Linked DNA regions of Homo sapiens: all the other regions are linked to region 1. The links are contacts of gene promoters, found by promoter capture Hi-C in human tissues and cell types (Jung and others, 2019). All regions are on one chromosome and are shown on one strand. Each heading gives the region's core, a stretch centred on a gene start or on the middle of the fragment in contact. The rest is flanking DNA. Distances are from core to core; before and after follow the strand shown.

What was found. The method cuts DNA at HindIII sites, captures the fragments that hold promoters and counts their contacts. A contact is called where the count stands out against the background at its distance.
Region 2: the fragment with the promoter of GJA3 here is called in contact with the fragment with the promoter of XPO4 in region 1 in 1 of the 25 tissues and cell types used here (lymphoblastoid cells).
Region 3: a fragment that was not itself captured here is called in contact with the fragment with the promoter of XPO4 in region 1 in 1 of the 25 tissues and cell types used here (lymphoblastoid cells).
Region 4: a contact is called between the fragment with the promoter of ZDHHC20 here and the fragment with the promoter of XPO4 in region 1, in 1 of the 25 tissues and cell types used here (small bowel).

What each region holds. Positions count from the first base shown.
Region 1 is chr13:20,900,653-20,905,855 of GRCh38, forward strand. XPO4 (exportin 4) reads right to left here and starts at 2,094. Exons shown (of 23, transcript NM_022459.5): 1 at 2,018-2,094. The coding sequence starts at 2,086. RefSeq lists an enhancer at 1,857-1,906 and a silencer at 2,117-2,496. The HindIII fragment of the contact is 40,685 bases long and covers 1-5,203 here.
Region 2 is chr13:20,158,891-20,164,093 of GRCh38, forward strand. GJA3 (gap junction protein alpha 3) reads right to left here and starts at 2,162. Exons shown (of 2, transcript NM_021954.4): 1 at 2,000-2,162. RefSeq lists silencers at 1,893-1,982, 2,143-2,222, 2,453-2,812. The HindIII fragment of the contact is 27,118 bases long and covers 1-5,203 here.
Region 3 is chr13:21,475,635-21,480,837 of GRCh38, forward strand. No RefSeq gene overlaps it. Among named protein-coding and RNA genes, the nearest start is that of ZDHHC20, 19 kb to the left of the region's middle. RefSeq lists a silencer at 1,674-1,723. The HindIII fragment of the contact is 9,938 bases long and covers 1-5,203 here.
Region 4 is chr13:21,456,173-21,461,375 of GRCh38, forward strand. ZDHHC20 (zDHHC palmitoyltransferase 20) reads right to left here and starts at 3,131. Exons shown (of 13, transcript NM_001330059.2): 1 at 2,882-3,131. The coding sequence starts at 2,999. LOC124903131 (a long non-coding RNA gene) reads left to right here and starts at 3,375. Exons shown (of 2, transcript XR_007063713.1): 1 at 3,375-4,007; 2 at 4,211-4,474. RefSeq lists a silencer at 3,044-3,423, an enhancer at 3,287-3,456 and a cis regulatory region at 3,372. The HindIII fragment of the contact is 17,074 bases long and covers 1-5,203 here.

The DNA.
Region 1 (5,203 bases), core at 844-3,343:
CCCAGACTGGAGTGCAGCAGCACGATCTCGGCTCACTCCAACCTCTGCCTCCTGGTTCAAGCGATTCTCCTGTCTTCGCCTCCAGAGTAGCTGAGATTAAAGGTGCCAGCCATCACGCCCGGCTAATTTTTATATTTTTAGTAGAGATGGGGCTTCACCGTGTTGGCCAGCCTGGTCTTGGGCTCCTAATCTTTAGTGATCCGCCCACCTCGGCCTCCCAAAGTGCTGGGATTACAGGAATGAGCCACCGCACCCGGCTGTAATTTCCTGTTTTTAATAACATGACACTTTTTTCAATACTACTCTCCTCTGAAAAGATAAAAAGCATTTAGACAAATTATTTATACAACATATGACAGATGGGGTAGAGTGGAAAGACACACAGCTTTAGAGCCAGACAGAACTGAGTTCAAGACCTAATTCAGCCATTTAGTAATCGTGTAACCCGGGCCACTTACAGTTTCTCAACCTTGTAAAGCAAAGCTGTTGCAAGAATTAATAAAATATGTAAAGTATGTAAAGCATCAAGCCCAATATCTAGCACTCAATAAACGGTACTTACTACTATTCTTCTCACCTACTCCTTATAGGGGATAAAAGCAGCTTTGCCAGGGAAGAGGGAAGATATTGGAAAACACAAATACTAGTTTATATTAAGCCAGTGACGAAGGACACTGATTTTACCTGATCAGTGTAAGAACTACAGCCGTGTTTTGGGTGGCATACTCCTTCCAGAATCCAATGAAAACGGAGCCCCTAGCTCCTAGGAAAATTTCAGGAATTTTACAAAACGCTCTATGTCAGGGATTTTTAAGAATCTTTTATTAAGGGGAATACTAGCTAGTTACTTCTGCTTAATTTGCAAAAGTGTGAAAACCTTCACTAGTCTGTTTTGTGACAAAACGTACATTAAGTTAATATTCATAATGAAGCAAGTAAATCCTGCTTTTATTAGACTTCTCGATTTCTAAAGAAACAAAAATATCTGGTGTAAAATATTAGAACTACAAACTACGCTAGAATTAGTTCGAATATTCTCAAATGTGATGCTCAAACACCCTAACACCAAACCAAAAGGAAAAAAGTCCAAAAAGGTAACAAAGCTGGCTGTATCCAATTCTTAGAAAGTCTGAATCAATCCAGGTATCAAATGAACCTCTAACTTCCCAAAACATCTACAAACACCGAAGTCATAATTTGCAAAAACAAAGCTGAGCCAGCAAATAGAAACACTGTTTACTAACTGAACGTAGTTTATCCTTACTTCTCCTCCTTGCATGTAATACTTTTATCCTTTGACTCGGCCTTCTCAAATTCCCTTAGTAAACAATCTCATCAAACTGCTTATTGTAGTGTAAGCATGAAGTCAAAGAGTAGCATAGACTCAGTTCTCCAAATCGCGGGAGCTTTAAGGAGCTTAGCACTAGACCAAGTTTTGCCCCAATGACCTTGGTCTCAACGATTCCCCTCCCTCCCTCCAGCCGGCCCGGCCCTTCCACGTGCTGCCGGCTGCAATTACTCCAGAGGTGGCTGCATGTCAGGGAAGCGCTAGAGGATGCGAATGCACAGGAAACAAGGGTTGCTAACAGCACCCAGGCTGTGCCATCCAATCCCTCCCGACACCAACTCCCCAAGAGCGCTCACACAGCCCTACAAATTTCCCCTACCGAAGCCCTGCGGGGATAACCCCAACTCCTTCCCGGCGCCTTGCTCTGCGACCCAGTCTGTGGGGCAGGGTGTAAGGTGAAGAAATTCTCTTTGCTACACCACTATATTCCCACGCCCGACTGGGGTGCTGGGCAGCCAGGGGAAGGGGACAGCTCCTGGAAGGAGGGGACGACGGCAGGAGGAAAGTAGGCTGAAGAATCCTGCGCCACGCCACCGCCACCTCCTCCTCCACTTCCAGGCTCCCTGCAGGCCCTTGCCAGTCGCCAGCCCAGCGAGCAGCAAGGCCTGGAGTGGCAGGGCCGACCGGGGGCCCGCGAATCCCGGGGTCTGAGGGGCGCGGCGTCCTCACCATCAGAACTTTAGCCGCGTTCTCCAGCTGAGCGATCACTTCTGGGGGCCCCAGCGCCGCCGCCATCATGGTCTCTCTTCAATGACGCGCCATGCGCTGCATTCTGGGAGCGGGCGCCGCGGCCGGCCAATCGCCGCCGCGACCCCGGAGCCTCACGCGCTCCCAGGGCCGTCGCAGCCGCTGTCGACACCGGCGTCGCGGCCTCGGCGGGTCTGGCCGGGCTGCCGGGTTCCGGGTGGCTGGGAGGGGACTAGTGTGAGCCCGGCCGCCGCGCTGGGGCGGGGGCGGCCGCAGCCGGCACCGGGCGAGGCCGAGGCGGTCTGCCCAGACTGCTGCAGCCGCGCGCCCCGCTAAGCTCCCAGCCCCGCGCATGCGTGGTGTCCGGCGCCCCGGCCTCGCGGTGCCCCCGGCCCTCTCCCCACTACCCTAGTACAGCCCGCCCGGGGACCCGCAGATCCACGACGCCAGTTCGCTCCCTCCGTTCTCAGCCCTGCACACCGCCTCCCCTGGCTCCTCCTTGCCCTTCCACGCTCCAGCGCCGTGCAGGATTTCCTAAACTTGGAATCGCTCTTCCCGCTTTCCCCTCCTCAGAGCGCACCTCCTTTCAAAGTATCTCTGTCTCCTGCTTCTCTGTTCCTTCTTGCCATGGGAGAACATTCCAGGATAGAACGCTTCGTTTTCTTTCTTTCTTTTTTTTTTTTTTTGGAGACAGGGTCTCACTCTATCGCCCAGGATGGAGTGCAATGGCCCTATTTCGGCTCACTGCAACCTCCGTCTCCCGGGTTCAAGCGATTCCCCTGCCTCAGCCTCCTGAGTATCTGGGATTACAGGCGCCCGCCACCACGCCCGGCTAATTTTTGTACTTTTAGTAGAGACGAAGTTTCACCATGTTGGCCAGGCTGGTCTCGAACTCCTGACCTCAGGTGATCCGCCCGCCTCGGTCTCCCAAAGTTCTGGGATTACAGGCGTGAGCCACCGCCCCCGGCCGAACGCTTCGTTTTCATAATGGAGGGCTTTGGCCTTCTGCAGGACAATCATCCAAATGTATCTGGGCAGCGGGTCGCTAGGAGACCCTAGGAGGAAAACCCGTCTTTGGCTCTTGCCGTTTTCACTCTTTAAGGGCTGGCTCACATAGGAGAGGGAGAAAGCAGGGACAGGAAAGCCTGACCTTGACTACCTGGCTTCTCAAATGCAGTAAGATGAGCTTTGTCGGCCAGGCGCTGTGGCTCATGCCTGTAATCCCAGCACTTTGGGAGGCCAAGGCAGGCCTCATTTTAGCTCAGGAGTTCGAGACCAGCCTGGGCAACATCGTGAGACCCTGTCTCTACCAAAAAAAAAAAAAAAAAAAGCCCGGTGTGGTGTCTTGCGCCTGTGGTCCGAGCTTCTCGGGAGGCTGAAGCGGAAGGATTGCCCAGGAGGTCGAGAGTGCAGTGGGGCGAGATCACACCACGGCACTCCAGCCTGGGTGAGAGGCTGATCCTGTCTCAGGAAAAAAAAAAAAAAGGACAAAAATCAGCATTGTCGTGTTTGTGGAATCCGTGTTGAAAGGCATATTAGAGTATCAAGTAATTAACCTTCCCTCCGGTGCTCCAGTTGCCTCTAGGACATTCCACGCAAGTGGTCCTGACAGCTGTTTCAGTATTCAAACCAGTGCTGTTAGGTTGTTCGGATCAGGGGTTTGTTTCGTTTTGAGCTGACATCTACGGTCTACATTCCTATAACTTCTTTTTGGTGCTTATTCAGCCTTCTGAAACAACACAGACAGTCAAATTCGTTTCAGTATTTTTAAGTTTATTTTTTGTTGAAATCTTCCTGTTTCTTATTCCTAGTTATAAGAAAGCCATACTGTTGAGGTTTTATGTCACTGCAACAGAATGTCTGTGTGTGTGTGTGTGTGTGTGTGTGTGTGTGTGTGTGTGTGTGTGTGTGTTATGGAGTCTCTCTCTGTCACCCAGGCTGGAGTGCCATGGTGCCATCTCAGCTCACTGCAACCTCTGCCTCCTGGGTTCAAACGATTCTCGTGCTTCAGCCTCCAGAGTAGCTGGGATTACAGGTGTGCACCACTACACCTGGCTAATTTTTGTATTTTTAGCAGAGACGGGGTTTCACCATGTTAGCCAGGCTGGTCTTGAACTCCTGACCTTAGGCGATCCGCTGCCTCAGCCTCCCAAAATGCTGGGATTACAGGCATGAGCCACTGTGCCCGGCCACACGGAACTGCATTATTAGCTCCGTTGGAAAATATGTTGTTTCTTGTACTTGAAGTCTCTGCAACTTGAAGTAGAGAAAATGAATTAACAAGGTTTGTATTGCTTGAGAAACTAAGTAAGTTTTATTTTATTACTGAAGTTTAAAGTGAGCCAAAATGCAGTTAATGGTCCTTTTTAGTAACTAAGTGTTTATCATAGGGCCTGACATATAGTAGGCACTCAGTAAATATTTGACCAAGTATAGCAATCTACAAGAAAATTACAAAATGATTCTAGTTGCTGCAAAGAGTAATTACCAAAGATCAATGATATTGTGCAAATATGTAGATAAACAGTTTGTGACAGTAAATGTTTGAGGCTTATAATGCTTCAGATTGGGCCTTGGGTTCCAAAGTATTTATTTTGTGCAATTACATTAGAACTTTGCAACTACACGTGTTTTAAGAAAGAGGGCCAGGTGCAGTGGCTTACGTGTGTAATCCCAGCACTTTGGGAGGCCCAGGTGGGCGGATCACCTGAGATCAGGAGTTTGAGACCAGCTTGACCAACATGGAGAAACCCCATGTCTACTAAAAAAAAAAAAAAAAATACAAAATTAGCCAGGTGTGGTGGCACATGCCTGTAATCCCAGCTACTCGGGAAGCTGAGGCAGGAGAATCACTTGAACCCAGGAGGCGGAGGTTGCGGAGAGCCAAGATCGCGCCACTGCACTCCAGCCTGGGCAACAAGAGTGAAACTCCATCTCAAAAAAAAAGAGAAGGCCAGGCGCAGTGGCTCATGCCTGTAATCCCAACACTTTGGGAGGCCAAGGCAGGCAGATCACTTGAGGGCAGGCATTCAAGACCAGCCTGGCCAACATGGTGAAACCCTGTCTCCACTAAAAATTAGCCAGGCGAGGTGGCACAGGACTGTAATCTCAGCTACTCAGGAGGCTGAGGCAGGGGAATCGCTTGAACCTGGGAGCCAGAGGTTGCAG
Region 2 (5,203 bases), core at 912-3,411, 740 kb before region 1:
CCTGGACAAGAGCAAAACTCTCAAAAAAAAAAAAAAAAAAAAAAAAGAAAAAGAAAAAGAAAAAAAGCAAGCAGTAGAGTACTAACCTAGTTATCATGAGGAATTTTCCACCACTGTAGGAATGAAAATTAAGATGAAACTTTATTATTTTTATTGCCTTTAAGCATTATACAGAAATTGCAGAAACATACTGTTTTTTAGAGACATATATGCTGTTGTCACATATATTGGATTTTTTCCCTCCTCAATTCAGTAAACATTTATTATTATTATAAAACATTATTACCTATTGTGTGTGGCACTGTGCCACACACTGAGGACAGCAAAACAATTAAGATCCAGTCCTCACTCTCAGGAGATTCATTTGCAATCTATGAGAGAGGCAGAGTGGCAAAAAACAGATCAAAATGTAAGTACTACATAGTACTGGGAATAGCTACCATCCAGCGGAGGGAGGAAGAAGGCATGGTGGTAGACGCCTGTAGTCCCAGCTACTCGGGAGGTTGCAGTGAGCCGAGATCGCACCACTGCACTCCAGCCTGGGTGACAGAGCGAGACTCCATCTCAAAAAAAAAAAAAAAAAAAAAAAAAAAAAAGGCTGCGATAAACGTAATTTTTCGTTTCAAATGTAGTGTGTACACGTTATTTTAGCTAAGAGAAATGAATATAATAAGTTAAAATGTGAGTAACATTCAAGAAAACTGGGTCAAAAATATTTTCCTTATTGGCAAAAAATTTTGTTACCCGCCATTCTTTTAAGACAGCTTTCAGCCAGTTAACGGTTCCTGGTTAAGAAACAGTACTGTCTGATTTGTTAGAGTAGTACCGTTTCGTGAATTACTTTCCACTACAGCAACACATGCATTGCCCTTATGAGATGCTTATCTCGATATGAACCAAACTGCTGAGCAGGTGGAATCTGTGCCAAACTAGCTGATGTTTACTTTGAACACACTGATATTCGGAAAATAAATCCCTCTTTTTTCCTCTTTAATCTTTTAATGTTTGTCTTGCACATGGATGGACCGCCAGTGAAGTGATGCGCACATCATAAATCACCATGGTTTTTAATTCCTGGGTGATGAGACCCATAATTCGCTTGTCAGCTGTTTGTATAGAATCATTTTTAAATGGCATGTTTTGGAGACATCTTGATAAAATAAAAACTGGAGTTCTAAAGTTGCAGTCACATATTCACGAACCGAGAACTCTACATGGTAGGATGAATTTTGCTCACTAGTGTGGAGTCGGCAACAAAGCAAATGCAGCCGCGTCACTGCCGTTTGTTTTCTCAAGTCTCCTACGGGAAGGGGCTCGGACAGTGCTTTTCCACTCCTCTGCAAATTCCTTATAGTTGAACACATCATAACAAACATACAGGTCGAGAAATCTGGTCGTGGCATTAATAGCTACAGTGTTTCTTAAAAATAAAAAGTTTTAAAAAGTTTCTGAAAAAAATGTAGGCGAGCCAACCTTGTTTCTAAACAATCCCAACAGGACTTTTAGGAGCACGGCGATGCTGAATGCCCGTGGACGGCTGGGTGCGCGCCGTTAGCTGGCGCGGTGACATCTGCTTAGAGTTTTCAAGCATTTCAGCATCGCTAGGAGCCCTACAGCCTGACGGTCCGGGACAGCCCGGCTTCCTCCACCCGAGGGGGAAAACAACCCCAGGAAAACAACTTAAACTCGGCCTTGGACTGTCCATCAAGGGAAGCCAAACGAGGCGCTGCTCTCCAGACCTCCAGGAGCAAAGGAGGAAGATCAATTATTCCAAAAGTTTCTCACAAATTTCCCGAGCTCCCCACAACTTTTTGAAGAATCCTGAAAGAATCCTAGGGGGCTGGGAGCCGCACACGTGCCGGGGCTCGGCTTCCCAGCTCGGCAGTCTCAGCCCGCTGGGCTCGCCCGGCAGCTCCGCTGCGCCGCCGACCCGCCCGTCCCCGCCCCGCGCTGCCCTCGGCCCCTGTGCCTGGCCTCCGGGGCGCCCGGCCCGCCTTACCCCGCTCTGCCGCGGCGGCGACCCGGGTGCGTTCCTCCGGAGCAGGGCTCCCGGCCGCTCTGAAAAGAATTCCTTTCACACGTGCGGTGCTGCTTCACGCGTGCGCCCCGCGCCAGGGCCCGACCTCCCCGCCCTGATCGCCATCCCTGCAGCCCCAGTGTGCGCTGCGCCCGACGCCCCCAAGCTGCAGCTCAGGACGCCGCGCCACGCCCCCGCCGCCTCCGAACAGCCCCGCCCCGCGCGCTTCCCAGCACGCACACCTACCGCCCCCGCATCCCTACCCTGTACGCGCAGCCACAGCACTCGCCCGCGTCCGCATTCCACACCCTACCCCGCGCGCACGTCCATGCCTAGCGCCTGCATCCCCATCCCGCACCTGCGCGGGCCCTGGGGATGTGGACGCGGGGGCTCTTCCCTGCCGCCTACGCACTCCGGGGCATGCCCGCGCGGGACGTGAGAGGAGAGCCGAGGGCTGTTGGGGCGGGCCCGACCCGCTTGCGGGGCGCCCACCGCACGCAGATGCGCCAGCCCGCGCCCCGCTCGCGCCTGTCCTGGGCTTCGCAGGCCCGGCGAGGTAGCTGCTCTCCGGGCGCTCCCACGGTCGGAGGCGCGTGGGCGTCGGGCACCTAGGTCTCGCCCGCCTGCAGCCGCCTGGGGACGCGGGTTCCGGACGGCTGGCGCGGGGCGGGGCGGGGACCACCGAGCAGGAAGTCCCCGCGGAAGCGCCGCCGGGCACAGCGTGGGTGCTGTCGAGGAGTGGCGCCCGGGCGGGGCGGGAGGTTATAAATAGCGGCCGCCATCCTGCTTCTCTTCAGACACACTTAATTTAGCCGGCAGGCACACGGATGCTTATTTTTAAAAAAAGAACTTGTTTTATTGCGCTCGAGGTGACCGGGAAGGTGTCCCCGCGGGTCACTCGCTCCATCTGGTCCTGGAGACGAGATGCCAGGGCGAGGCCTAACCTGCCTGCTGGCGCCCAACGAAGATTTTAACGTTTTCTGTTCCCTTCGGGGTGGTTTTACCACGCTTGAGAGGGACGCCTACCGCGGAAGGCCGCGGACCGAGGGCGGCATCGCGTCCTTGTCTGCTGTCTGGGCACAGCCTAGAGAGGCCGCGGGTCCCCTCCCCGTCCCCCAAGGTCTGGAGTGGGGTTTGACCAGCCTGGGATATTAACAAATATCGGTGGACTGCATTTCGGTGATCATTCCACAAGCTGAAATGGCTTCAAAATCACCTTTATGAGTAATAAGTTTATTCCAGGAATGTGGCAAAATGCAAGTCTGATAGTTTTCGTGTCTTCATGGAGCAGCTTCCGTCGGCTGCCTTCGTTAGCGTTTAGATCTACTCGGATTAGCAGTTGGCTTGCCCTGAAAAATGCGTTTGTTCTGCTGAGATCTGAATTTAAAGTTATCCCAAGGAGGAAAAACTAAGCTCCTAAAGGCGCATCTAAAATATCTTCTCCCTTTGGGAACTTTGCGGTGTATGTATGGAGTAGGTAGTAGTTACGGAGACTTAGTTTTTAATTTTTAATTGAAAAATGCTACCTTTGAAGGTCTTAAAATACTTGAATATTTTTCTCATTTAAAACATTTTCTCTGAGAAGCACAGGAATAGTTTTTTTTTTTTTGTTGATCACAAAAGCACTAGGAATTGTTAATATTTGTAGTCTGTTTGCCAAATGCTATTATTGGTATTCTGAGGATAAAAATGGAAATATAATATTGTAATAATTTTAAAATTTTTATTAAAATATAGATTTTAAATTATATTATGTAATTCGAACAAATATTTTACATATATGTTCATACAAGCATTATTTACTATAGCCAAAAGGTGTCCATCAATGGATGAATGGATAAACAAAATGTATTGCATACCTACAGTGGAATATTATTCAGCCTTAAAAAGGGAGAGCCCCATCACATGCTACAACGTGGACGAACCTTGAGTACATTATGCTAAATGAAATAAGCCAGTCACAAAAGTCACAAATACTGTATGATTCCATTTACATGAGGTACCTACAGCAGTCAAAATCATAGAGACGGAAAGTAGAAGTGTGGTTACCAGCAGCTGGGGCAGTGGGAAACGGGAAGATAGAGTTTCATAGGTACGGAGTTTTAGTTTGGGAAGATAGAAATAGTTTTGGAAGCAGATGATGGTAATGGTTGCATAACAATGTGAATGTACTTAATGCCACAGAACTGTACACATTAAGAAAGGTTAAATGGTAAATTAAAGGTTATGTATATTTTACTACCATAAAACAATTTTTAAAGTGGTATTGTGTAAAGACCAGCACAACTAAGAAGCTAGCAGTTTCTTTACACTTGTCATACTGTACAATTTCTAGGTAGACAACTAAGATGTTCATCTTATGGTTTAATGTTTAGTTGTAAAGGTTGTTTGCTTCTCATTTGGTTCCAAGAAAGAGTATTTAGGCCAATTTCAGGGAGAAATATGTGTATAGATATATTCATATGTCAAACTGATTAGTGCTGAATGTCACATTTCCATATTCTAATAACATTTCTAGCAAAGAAGAGGACACAGTGAAGAGAGAATTGCCCGCATTGTCATTGTCTCTTTCTGAGCCTAGAACGCCTAACACTTGGGTGTGGAGAGACTCAGCCTCAATTCACTTTCTAGCAGCCACTGAGATGTGCTTGCCTGGGGTGCCCCCTGGCAGGCAGGGCTGGAACTGCTTTCCAGTACCCACACGGACTGTGAACGAATCTTTCTTTGTGCTTTGTGTACAGAATGGAAGTTCAACAAATATTTGTTGAATGTGTATGTCCTTCCAATACGCAGCAGCCCAGAGCAAACGTGGTAATCTTGTGTGTGTTCATGTGAAAGCAGAATTTAATGGTGCTTTTAAGCACCAAAGTTTAAGATGCACGAGAAAACTGTATCTCCATTTTTTCCTTTTCGTTTACAATTACTTGTATAAGCCAGGCACGGTGGTGGCTCACGCCTGTAATCCCAGCACTTTGGGAGGCCGAGGCGGGCGGATCACATGAGGTCGGGAGCTTGATACCAGCCTGGCCAACGTGGTGAAACCCCGTTGCTACTAAAAATACAAAAATTAGCCGTGTGTGGCGGCACCTGCCTGTAATCCCAACTACTCAGGAGGCTGAGGCAGGAGAATCACTTGAACCGGGGAAGCGGAGGTTGCAGTGAGCTGAGACTGCACCACTGTACTCC
Region 3 (5,203 bases), core at 1,537-4,036, 580 kb after region 1:
TCCTTAGATTGGAAAGTTTTTAAAGGAAGGACTATTTCTATTTTGTTTATCACCGTGAGTCCAGCACATCTTCAGGCACATAATAGGCACTATATTATATTAACTGAATGAATGAATGACAAGTAACTTGGAGTTAGAAATGTCCATGCTTTTCCTACAGTTTTCTCAACCTCCCCATAACTTCAGTCACAGAAACAGTCTTGTATTATGGTGATTATATTCTCTAGTACTTATTAGAATAGTGCTATATTTACTTACACTATTAGGTAAGAAGACAGTTGTGGATTAGCCTAAGGACTGAGTTATATTGCAGAACACAGTTAAGGATAGATTGAATTGAGGTCTAAACAACTTTAAAGCATATGGGAAAGATACAGATTGTGGAGTTGGGGATATTTGGATTCAAATCCCAGCATTACCACTTATTAGCTATGCATTGTAGAAATTAACTAATCTCCCTGAGATTCAGTTTCTCCTCCTGTAAAATAGGAATAATAGTATCTTTCTCATAGCATTTATTGTAAGGATTAGGGGAAATTCTTTGTTTTGTTTGTTTGTTTGTTTGTTTGTTTTGCTACAGAGTCTCGCTCCATCGCCCAGGCTGGAGTGCAGTGGCACAAACTTGGCTCACCTCTGCCTCCTGGATGCAATCAATTCTCCTGTCTCACCTCCCAAGTAGCTGGGACTGCAGGTGCCCGCCACCATGCCGCCCATCTAATTTTTGTGTGTTTTTTTTTAGTAGAGACGGGGTTTCAACATATCAGTCAGGCTGGTCTCGAACTCCTGACCTCAGGTGATCCATCTGCCTCGGCCTCCCAAAGTGCTGGGGTTACAGGCGTGAGCCACCACACCTGGCAGGAAATTTTATATATATGTACACATAGGTCTAAATATAGCTCATGTAAGAAATACATATGTACTTACATGTGTATATATCTGCATTTTATATATAACACATATGTATATGGAAATATTCTAATATGTATATATGCATGTCTGCTATGCCTCTACCTCCTTATCTACCTGTGTTATAAATCTGCAGTTCCTGACACATGGTCATTGTATGAGTCAGGGTCCACATTAAGTATTTCAATAGATTATTATTATTATTTTTTTTTAGGACTGGGGAAGGGGAGCTTAACAGAAAAAAAATTAATAGAAGGAGCTGGTTAAACAGGTGCTAGAAGAGTGAAGAAGCAAAGAAGAAAGTAAATGCTGGAAGCAGCTACCACTCCCTGGTCCAGGGTACTAAGAGAAGAGGCTGGGGGATTAAAATCCAGAAACTGGAAAGAAAGGCCTGCCGTTCCCAAGAGGCGCCTGGTGCCAGTGCCTGGGCGGGTGGCGGGAGCGGGGAGAGGACACAATGTGGCTGGTTCCGGGAGTGCAAAACAAAAACAAAACAAAACATAAAAAAAACCACACACACACACAAAAAAAACCAGGAGACTGGTACTAACCGCTGCCAGGATGAAGGCTGAGTACAGACACAAATAACACTGACCGGACACAGAGAGGAACGAGCCCCTTTCCCTCCTCCCGGCTTGCAGGCTCCCTCTACTGCCCCCTATCGGCAGAGCCTAGCACGTCGCCAGCAAGCAAAGGGAAACGGGTTTTGCAGGGTCTGGGACCGGCCCCATCATGACAAAGCCAAGTATGTGTGCAAGCGAGGGGATGGAACGGAGAGACAATAGCTTAGTAACTTAATTTACTCATTCGCCATTTTAACAGCTGCCTAGAATTTCATTGTACAATTAGAGCACAATTTATCCATTTTCATGGTGCTAGATATTTATGTTGTTTCTGAATTTTTATTTGAAATGATGCTACTGTGAACATTCCTTTAATTCTTTTTGGATCATAAAATTTTGGGGAAGAGCTCGCATGACATTCTGCAAAGCATAAAGGAGTTATTAATATATTTTCACCCACTATTGAATGTTTAAATATTATATAAGTCTAGGTGTGGTAAGTACTATAAGCACACTGTTTTCTCCCATTTCATCCTCTTGGCAAGAGAACTCTCCTAGAAAGAAGACTAGCACCTAGCAGAATGCTTTGAATAGAGCAGGCTTCAATAAAGATTTGACATTGATGATACTGAAGAGATAACCTGGCTAGTAACAAGATGTTGCATAGAGATTCCAAACATTAATTTCCTTCCTTGCCGAATGTAAGCAAACACAAACAGCAAGTGCTAATGGTAAATGTGGTAAAGCACTAATTTCTCTGAGTTGGTCAATATTTAGCTGAGGCATGTCAGTTCAAAGCCTCCCACAATGTTTCTCCTTCATTAAGCAAGTCATCTCTGAGATATTCTGTAATTTTCTGTATATCTTCTTTATTATATGGTTAGTTTTTCTGTTAAAGATCATGTGTGGGCTGGGCATGGTGGCTCACGCCTGTAATCCCAGCACTTTGGGAGGCCAAGGCAGGCGGATCACGAGGTCAGGAGATCAAGACCATCCTGGCCAACATGGTGAAACCCCATCTCTACTAAAAATACAAAAAATTAGCTGGGTGTGGTGGCTAGTGCCTGTAATCCCAGCTACTCGGGAGGCTGAGGCAGGAGAATCTCTTGAACCCAGGAGGTGGAGGTTGCAGTGAGCTGAGATCGCGCCATTGCACTCCAGCCTGGGTGACAGAGCGAGAGACTCTGTCTCAAAAAAAAAAAAAAAAAAAGATCATGTGTGGGCCGGGTGCAGTGTCTCACCCTGTAATCCTAGCACTTTGGGAGGCCGAAGCGGGAGGATAGATTCAAGCCAGGAGTTCGAGACCAGCCTGGGCAAAATAGCAAGAACCCCGTCTCTACAGAATAGTTTTAAAAATTAGCTGGGTGTAGTGGTGCATGCCCCTAATCCCAGCTACTTGGGAGGATGAGGTGGAAGGATCGCTTGGGCCCAGGAGTTTGAGGAACCCTCAACTTCACTCCAGCCTGGGTGGAGCAAGGCCCTGCCAAAAAAAAAAAAAAAAAAAAAAAAAAGGCCGGGTGAGGTGGCTCACGCCTGTAATCCTAGCACTTTGGCAGGCCAAGGTGGGAGGATCACTTGAGGTCAGGAGTTCAAGACCAGCCTGGCCAACATGGTGAAACCCCATCTCTAATAAAAATACAAAAATTAGCTGGGCGTGGTGGCAGGTGCCTGTAATCCCATCTACTCAGGAGGCTAAGTCAGGAGAATCGCTTTAACTGGGAGGCAGAGGTTGCAGCGAACCTAGATGGTGCCACTGCACTCCAGCCTGGGTGACAGAGTGAGACTTTGTCTCAAAAAAAAAAAAAAAGAGAGAAAGGAAGGGACGACAAAGAAAGGAATGAAGAGAGAGTGAGAGTAAGAAAGAAAGAAGGAAAGAAAGAAAGAAAAAGAAGGAAAGAAAGAAAGAAAGAAAAAGGAAGGAAGGAACAGAGGGAGGGAGGGAGGGAAAGGAAAGGAAAGTAATGCTTGGTGTATGCAAGGCAGATAAAAATTTTTTGGAAAAGCAAGGCTGCCACCTTGTGGAACATTTGTATTGAATGCTTTCACTTTAAATCAACTGTAACGCCACAAGTGATTTGCAGGATTCTTTTAATTTTTCTCAATACGAGTTTTCTCCCTGCATTTCATCATTTTGTCTCATTCATTCTATGGCATCGATGTGGTATTAGTGTCAGTTTGCACTCCAGCTTTTGAAGATATGCAGTTTCCATTAAAGAAAACTTAGTGACTCACTTTTCCTCTACCGCCTCTGTCTACGGATCTGTGTGCTTATCTGCATGGAACTCTGACTTTGAAGTCTGTCTTGTACTCCCTCAGAAAAATATCAGGAAAATGTCTTTAAAAGTCCATTAACTGTTACAATTTAGAATTAAACACCTGTCACTTCCAAGGCAGAGGTGAGAAAATGTGAAGTTAAACAAATCACAGGGGATGCCTCCTCTGAGCATGGAAACTTCTCTCCCTAACTGGCTTGAGTTAGGTTCAGCTGTTCAACATGTGCACTTGATGTTGGATCTTCTTTGGCATGATGTTGGCAGAGACATTGGAATCTAGAGAACTGTTTAAGGCATGAACCTGGCAACGTGGGCGCTGCTTTTTCTCCTTTCTTCTCCTTCCCTTGCTTATACATCACTGGGGCAGAGGTGAGGGGTGGCAGAAATATCACTTATGGGATCAGAAAATGAAAACCCAGGACTCAAAAGGCTGGCAGCTGAGGGTCTAGACGACTCCTCTCTGCTTACTTAAATCCCTACTGTCTTACCTCTTGGCCCACAATAAAAGTAAAACATGCCCCAGGGAGAGAAAAAGCAAAATATTATGAATTGAATTAAAACCGTGTACATAGCTCTTAATTTATCGCATGCTGTCAAATGTATTGGCTATAAAGGGATAAGTATGTCAAAGTCTTGGAGCCAGGCAGCCAATTTGAAAGTTCTCCTGGTTGGCCGTGGTGGCTCATGTCTGTAGTCCCACCCAGCACTTTGGGAGGCTGAGGTTTGTGGGTCACTTGAGGTCAGGAGTTTGAGACCAACTTGGCCAACATGGCAAAACCCCGTCTCTTCTAAAAATACAAAAATTAGCTGGTTGTGGTGGTGCACGCCTATAGTCCCAGCTACTTGGTAGTAGGCTGAGGCACAAGAATCGCTTGAACCTGGGAGGCAGAGGTTGCAGTGAGCCAAGATCATGCCACTGCATACTCCAGCCTGAGGAAGACTCTGTCTAAAAAAAAAAAAAAAAGAAGATTCTCCTGTGACTTTCACCCTGATCCTCTAGTGTTGAGTGTAATTTGCCCTGCGGTCCCCTGGAGTCTCCTAAGCTGGTCTTAGCCTACAGAATGGCACAGCTTAGAGTAACAATCCACTGTGTCCGCCCAGCACCCTTGCTGCCGTCTGGGAGTAGTCACGCCCATCTTTTAGAAAATGTTCCTTCCGGCCGGGCGGGGTGGCTCACGCCTGTAATCCCAGCACTTTGGGAGGCTGAGGCGGGTGGATCACTAGGTCAGGAGTTCGAGACCGTCCTGGCTAACGCGGTGAAACGCCGTCTCTACTAAAAATACAAAAAACATTTAGCCGGGCGTAGTGGCGGGCGCCTGTAGTCCCAGCTACTCCGGAGGCTGAGGCAGGAGAGTGGCGTGAACCCGGTAGGCGGAGGTTGCTGTGAGCCGAGATTGCGCCACTGCACTCCAGCCTCCAGCCTGGGCAACAAAGCGAGACTCTGTCTCAAAAAAAAAAAAA
Region 4 (5,203 bases), core at 1,881-4,380, 560 kb after region 1:
AGGTGGGTGGATTGCCTGAGGTCAGGAGTTTGAGACCAGCCTGACCAACAAGGTGAAACCCCCGTCTCTACTAAAAATACAAAAAAAATTAGCTGGGCATGGTGGCGGGCACCTGTAATCCCAGCTACTTGGGAGGCTGAGGCAGGAGAGTCACTTGAACCCAGGAGGCAGAGGTTGCAGTGAGCCAAGATCGCATCATTGCACTCCAGCCTGGGCAACAAGAGTGAAACTCTGGCTCAAAAAATACATATATAAATAAAAAGAATATCCTATAAAAGTATTAAAACAGCACTTTTAAGTAAAACTCACACTTCCCTCCATTTAAGTCCTCCTATAAAGTAATATATCTATACATATTTCAGTGGGAGGGTCAGTACTTATGAAAACAAATACATACAAGTAGTTTAAAGGATAGTTTTAATATGAGTAAATGCACTTTTATGCTCAACTATTTTATACTCCAGTGACACTGCAGACCTCCCAAATTCTCTCTAGTTAAAATGAGATAACTCAGAAGTTAATACAGCCTCTACATAAGACCTTTCACCACCAAATATTTTAAGATTCTGCCAAGCATCAGGCCATAGTTATAGAATGTTTTAACTTAATGAAATTGTAGGGTATAATCTCTACAGAATGGGCCTCAAGCCTAACTAAGTGATCTCCAAAAATATGCCAACCCCTTTATCCCCCCACACCATTATGGACCAAACAATTACAGTTCCATTGACCCTCATAGCTTACTGAAGTTATATGAAAGAACGGAAAGATGTGGGTCACATTCCAATAATCAATTGTGTGACCTAACCAAAAGGACCTATTCGCTCAGTCTCACGTCCTCCACCTGTAGAGATACCTATGCTGTGACATACTGAAAGAATTAAAGGAGAGGGTGAATGAAATGTCCCCTCTATGCCCACTAGCACATGGCACTTCTCAATTCATGTTCATTTCTCCTTCTTTATTTGAAGTGGTGAAAGAAATCAGAAGCAATTTAAGACTTTTCACAGCACTGTTTGATCTCATTTCTTAATATTTTTGACAAAAACCATCTACAGGTTAAGCTGTGGAATCTCAACATAAATGCACATTTTTAGTGTTCCTTCAGCTTTACTTCAAAACCACTACGGGAATTAAAATACGGTAGGAATAATCTTCTGACAGAATAGGAATGACATAACTTTTAGAATAAATGCCCACTTCAGAGTAAATAAGAAGATAAAGGAGGTATCATCATAAGTTGATGAGAATCCTATGATCACTACCACTTTCTGGAAGTAGCTCCCAGAAATATTAAAATCTAGTAATTTTAATTGACTCAAACATCATTTTTAGTAAACATTCTGGTATCCAAAAGCATGAGACTAAACAATGATATTGAAAAGATTAATATTATTTGGAAATGTATTCCACAACTAATTTATTCTGGGCCTACCTGCAGGGATAGTCGTCCCAAAATTAAACGTTCTATAGGTACAAAGTAATTTTAAAACTGGATGTTTTAATTTCAAAACTTATAAATTTTCTGAGCCAAAGCATTCTCTTCCATGTATAGAACTAGGGTTTTAACCAAATACTTGGTTGAAAGCTGTACAAATCCAAACATAATTGAAGTCTTGATTCTGCCACTTTCAAGAGTGGGTGGTACAGATTCTTCTCATTCATAACATTAGTTTCTAGCTGATGTGGTTCGTTATTCAAAGAACACTTAACAGTCCTTCATAAAATGGTAGATTCAGTCTAAGGACTAAGAGTAGAACATTCTGGAATAACAATAACGTTTACAAACACCACTTACCATTTGGTCCTAGGTTTTCATAAAAAATTGATATAGGCAGCAGATGTATACAGAACACCCTAGTTGAGGCCAGTTTAAGTGTAAAATACCCACATACTCAAAGCCTAAGAACAATTTACTTAAGACAAAACAATGTTGGAGAAATTGCCCAATATCACAAATGTAGCAGTCACCCCTAAACAGTGTTTTTGATTAATGACAACCAATTTCCTTCAATCTTAAAGGCAACCAATTCAAGCCAGTAGGTTAAATCCTTGAAGTATACTGCAATGCTACTCCTTTTTTCCAGGGAATCAGATGAGAATTTTGTGCTAAGAACTTATCAGGAAAATGGAAGTAACGAAAATTAACACGCCAAAATATGAGTATAAGAAATATAAGCCTCCTTAATAATCAGCCAAGAAAAAAATAATCAGGTTATGTCTCCTCCCACCCATTCTTTCTGTCTTAACCTTCTGCAAAAGCCGGCTGGATTCAGAGTAGAAATAAACGAATTTTACAATGAGTCGAGTACCACCAAAAATCAAAAGTGGGAGCTTACTCGTCCTCCAGGTCTGACCCGCCTCCAGCCCGAGGCCACCAAAAGACACACCTCCCTTCCCCCAACCCGCCACAGCCGGCTCTACAGGTAACAGGCGTTTCTTCTCGCGCAGTTTGAACAAAAACAATCCAGAAGGAACAGATTTGGTTTTTTAAAAAAAATGAACAAAAGCCAAAAAAGCCACAAACACAACCTAAACCTTCTAAGAAGCTCGACTACTCCCGTTCTGCACGTTCCTTCCCAGAAGGATGCAGACCCCCGGTGTCGGCGGGAACCAGGAAGCTCTTGGGGCCTCCCTGGGCCAGACCTGCACCCGGGAAGCCGCCGCAAGGCTTCAGGAGCCCCAGGTCGCCCCAAGGCCGCGCCGCAGGATTGAACAAAGCGGCGGGTGCAGCAACCTCGGCGCTTCCGAGCGCGTTCGGGGCCGGACGCCCGGCGTCCGGCGCTGGCTCCAGAAAGGCGGCGGGTGTGGGGCGCAGAGGCCTATCTCGCGCCCTAGCCGCGGCCCGCGCCCCGCCGCAGTCCCCGGGGACGGTACTCACACACGCAGAGCTCCACCACGTACGCGTAGTAGGACCAGACGACCACGAAGGTGATGAAGAGCACCGGCACCCAGCCCACGACGCGCTGGCAGCAGCGCCACAGCGTCCAGGGCGCCATGTTCCGCTGGCGGCTGCCGAGCCCCGCGTCCCACCGTTCTGGGGAGCGCGGGAGCCCCGGCGACGGTGACTCGGACGCTCCAGGCGGCTGCTGGTCCAGCTCCCCCGCCTCCGAGGCAGGACTTGTGGGAGCAAAAGTCCGAGGCGCCGCCGGGACTCCTCCCGTCCCGGCGCCCAGCCAGGCCCCGCCCCCACCCCACATCCCGTCGCCCCCCTCCCCCCGCGTCCGTCCCCGCCAGCCCGCCCGCCGCGGGCCGCGGGCCGCCCCCGGTCTCCGCGTCGTTGGGGCGGGGTTTCCGCGGCCGGGGAGGCGGTGAGGGGGCGGGGCCGCAGCTCGGGACCGCCCATGGGGCGTGGCGGGGCTGGATGCGGACAGGCTGGGCGGACGCGGGAGGCCGGGGAAGGAGAGGCGAAAAACACGCCCTTGATGGATGAGAGGGACAGGGGATAGCTTTTGTGGATCGAGACTCAATAGGGGAGGGAGACTATGGAAATGATTCCTTAGCTGATTTGTGGATCTTGGCCCTCTCTGTGTACAGAACTCGCTCCACTGGGGTTCCTGGGACATTGAGTAGTTGGGGCACTGTTTCAAACATGACAAGGCCATTCCCCACTCAGTGTGCGAAGAATGCACATTGTTAGAAGGCTCCTCCTGTGATTTTTATGTTCGTCCATCTTGGCGGAACCCCTCCCTTTCTTGAAGATGGAACGGTAGATACCTGTAATTTCGGGTAGAAGCCATGTAGGGTCCATCAGTTTGATTCGTAACCCAAATTTAAGATTGAGTAGCGAGAAGGAAAGGGCATGTAAATGACCCTCTCCTTGCCCCGCAAACGACTAAGGAAATTTAAAGAATTTATTTACAACTAGAGGTTGCTAAGCAATGACGATAATCATATAGAACCCAGAAGCATCACTGTGAAGACTTCACAATGCAAGGTCAGACGCATTAGAAGGGATTCCAGACCGCAATCTTCATACCAGTTCCTGCTACTAGCATTCAGTTTTGGTTAGAATGAATTTTTGTGTTTGTTTTTTGAAACAGGGTCTTCTCGCTCTGTCGCCCAAGCTGGAGTGCAGTGGCACGACCTGGGCTCATTTAAGCCTCGACCTCCCTGCTAAAGCACTCCTCCTGCTTCAGCCTGCAGAGTAGCAGGGACTACAGGCCCGCCACCATGCCCAGCTGATGTTTGTATTTTCTGTAAAAACTAGGTTTCGCCCTGTTGCCATGCTGGCCCTGAACTCCAAGGCTCAAGGAATCCCAACCCCTCTCCGCCTCCACCTCCCAAAGAAGTGCTGAGATTACAGGTGTGAGCCACCACGACCGGCCTACACTGAGCTTTAAATTAGCTACTGCTCACTAAAGTCTCCATGAAGAAGACGTCACCCTTTGCTGTGTCAGAGAAATGTAGTAAAAGCGAGTAAGTATTTAATCACTGCACACTGCTGCTTGAGTAATAAAGCATGTATAAAAGATTCTGTTCTCCCTGATTTTGTGCCTTAAAAGTCATATTAGTTAGTGGCCTAGTTGACAGTAGGTTTAGGTTCAAGTTCAACTAGTTTTCCAGAGAGGCTGCTTAGGAGGGTTAGACCTCAACATAGAATTCGGATGGACATGGAAGAACATAAAGCCGTTTCTCCTCTATGTCATCTCTACGTACCAAAACCATGCTGCTAGAGCTCAGCACAAAGCCATGTCCTTTACAAGCTCCAGGGCTGCTAGAAATGATCTTTCACGACATTTTGTTTATAACCTAACTATAAAACTGTCACATTCGTTTCCTAGGGTGACTATAACAAAGTACCACAAAACTGGGGAATAATAGAAATTGGTTGTCTCACAGTTTAGGAGGGTAGGTGTCCCAAATCAAAGTGTTGGCAAGGATATTGGATATGGTTTGGATGTTTGTCCCCTCCAAATCCCATGTTGAAATGTGATCCCAGTGTTGGAGGTGGGACCTGGTGGGAGGTATTGGATCATTAGGGTGGATCCCTCATGAATGGTTTAGTGCCATCCCCTTGGATGAGGGGTTCTTTCTCTAGTAGTTCACATGAGATCTGGTTATTTAAAAGAGCCTGATCCTTCCCCCACTCTCTCTCTTGCCCCCTCTCTTGCCATGTGACATGCTGGCTCCCCTTTGCCTTCTGCCGAGAAGGCAGAAGTCTATCTCTGTGGTCCTGTGTCTTCAGAGATAAGGATGTTCC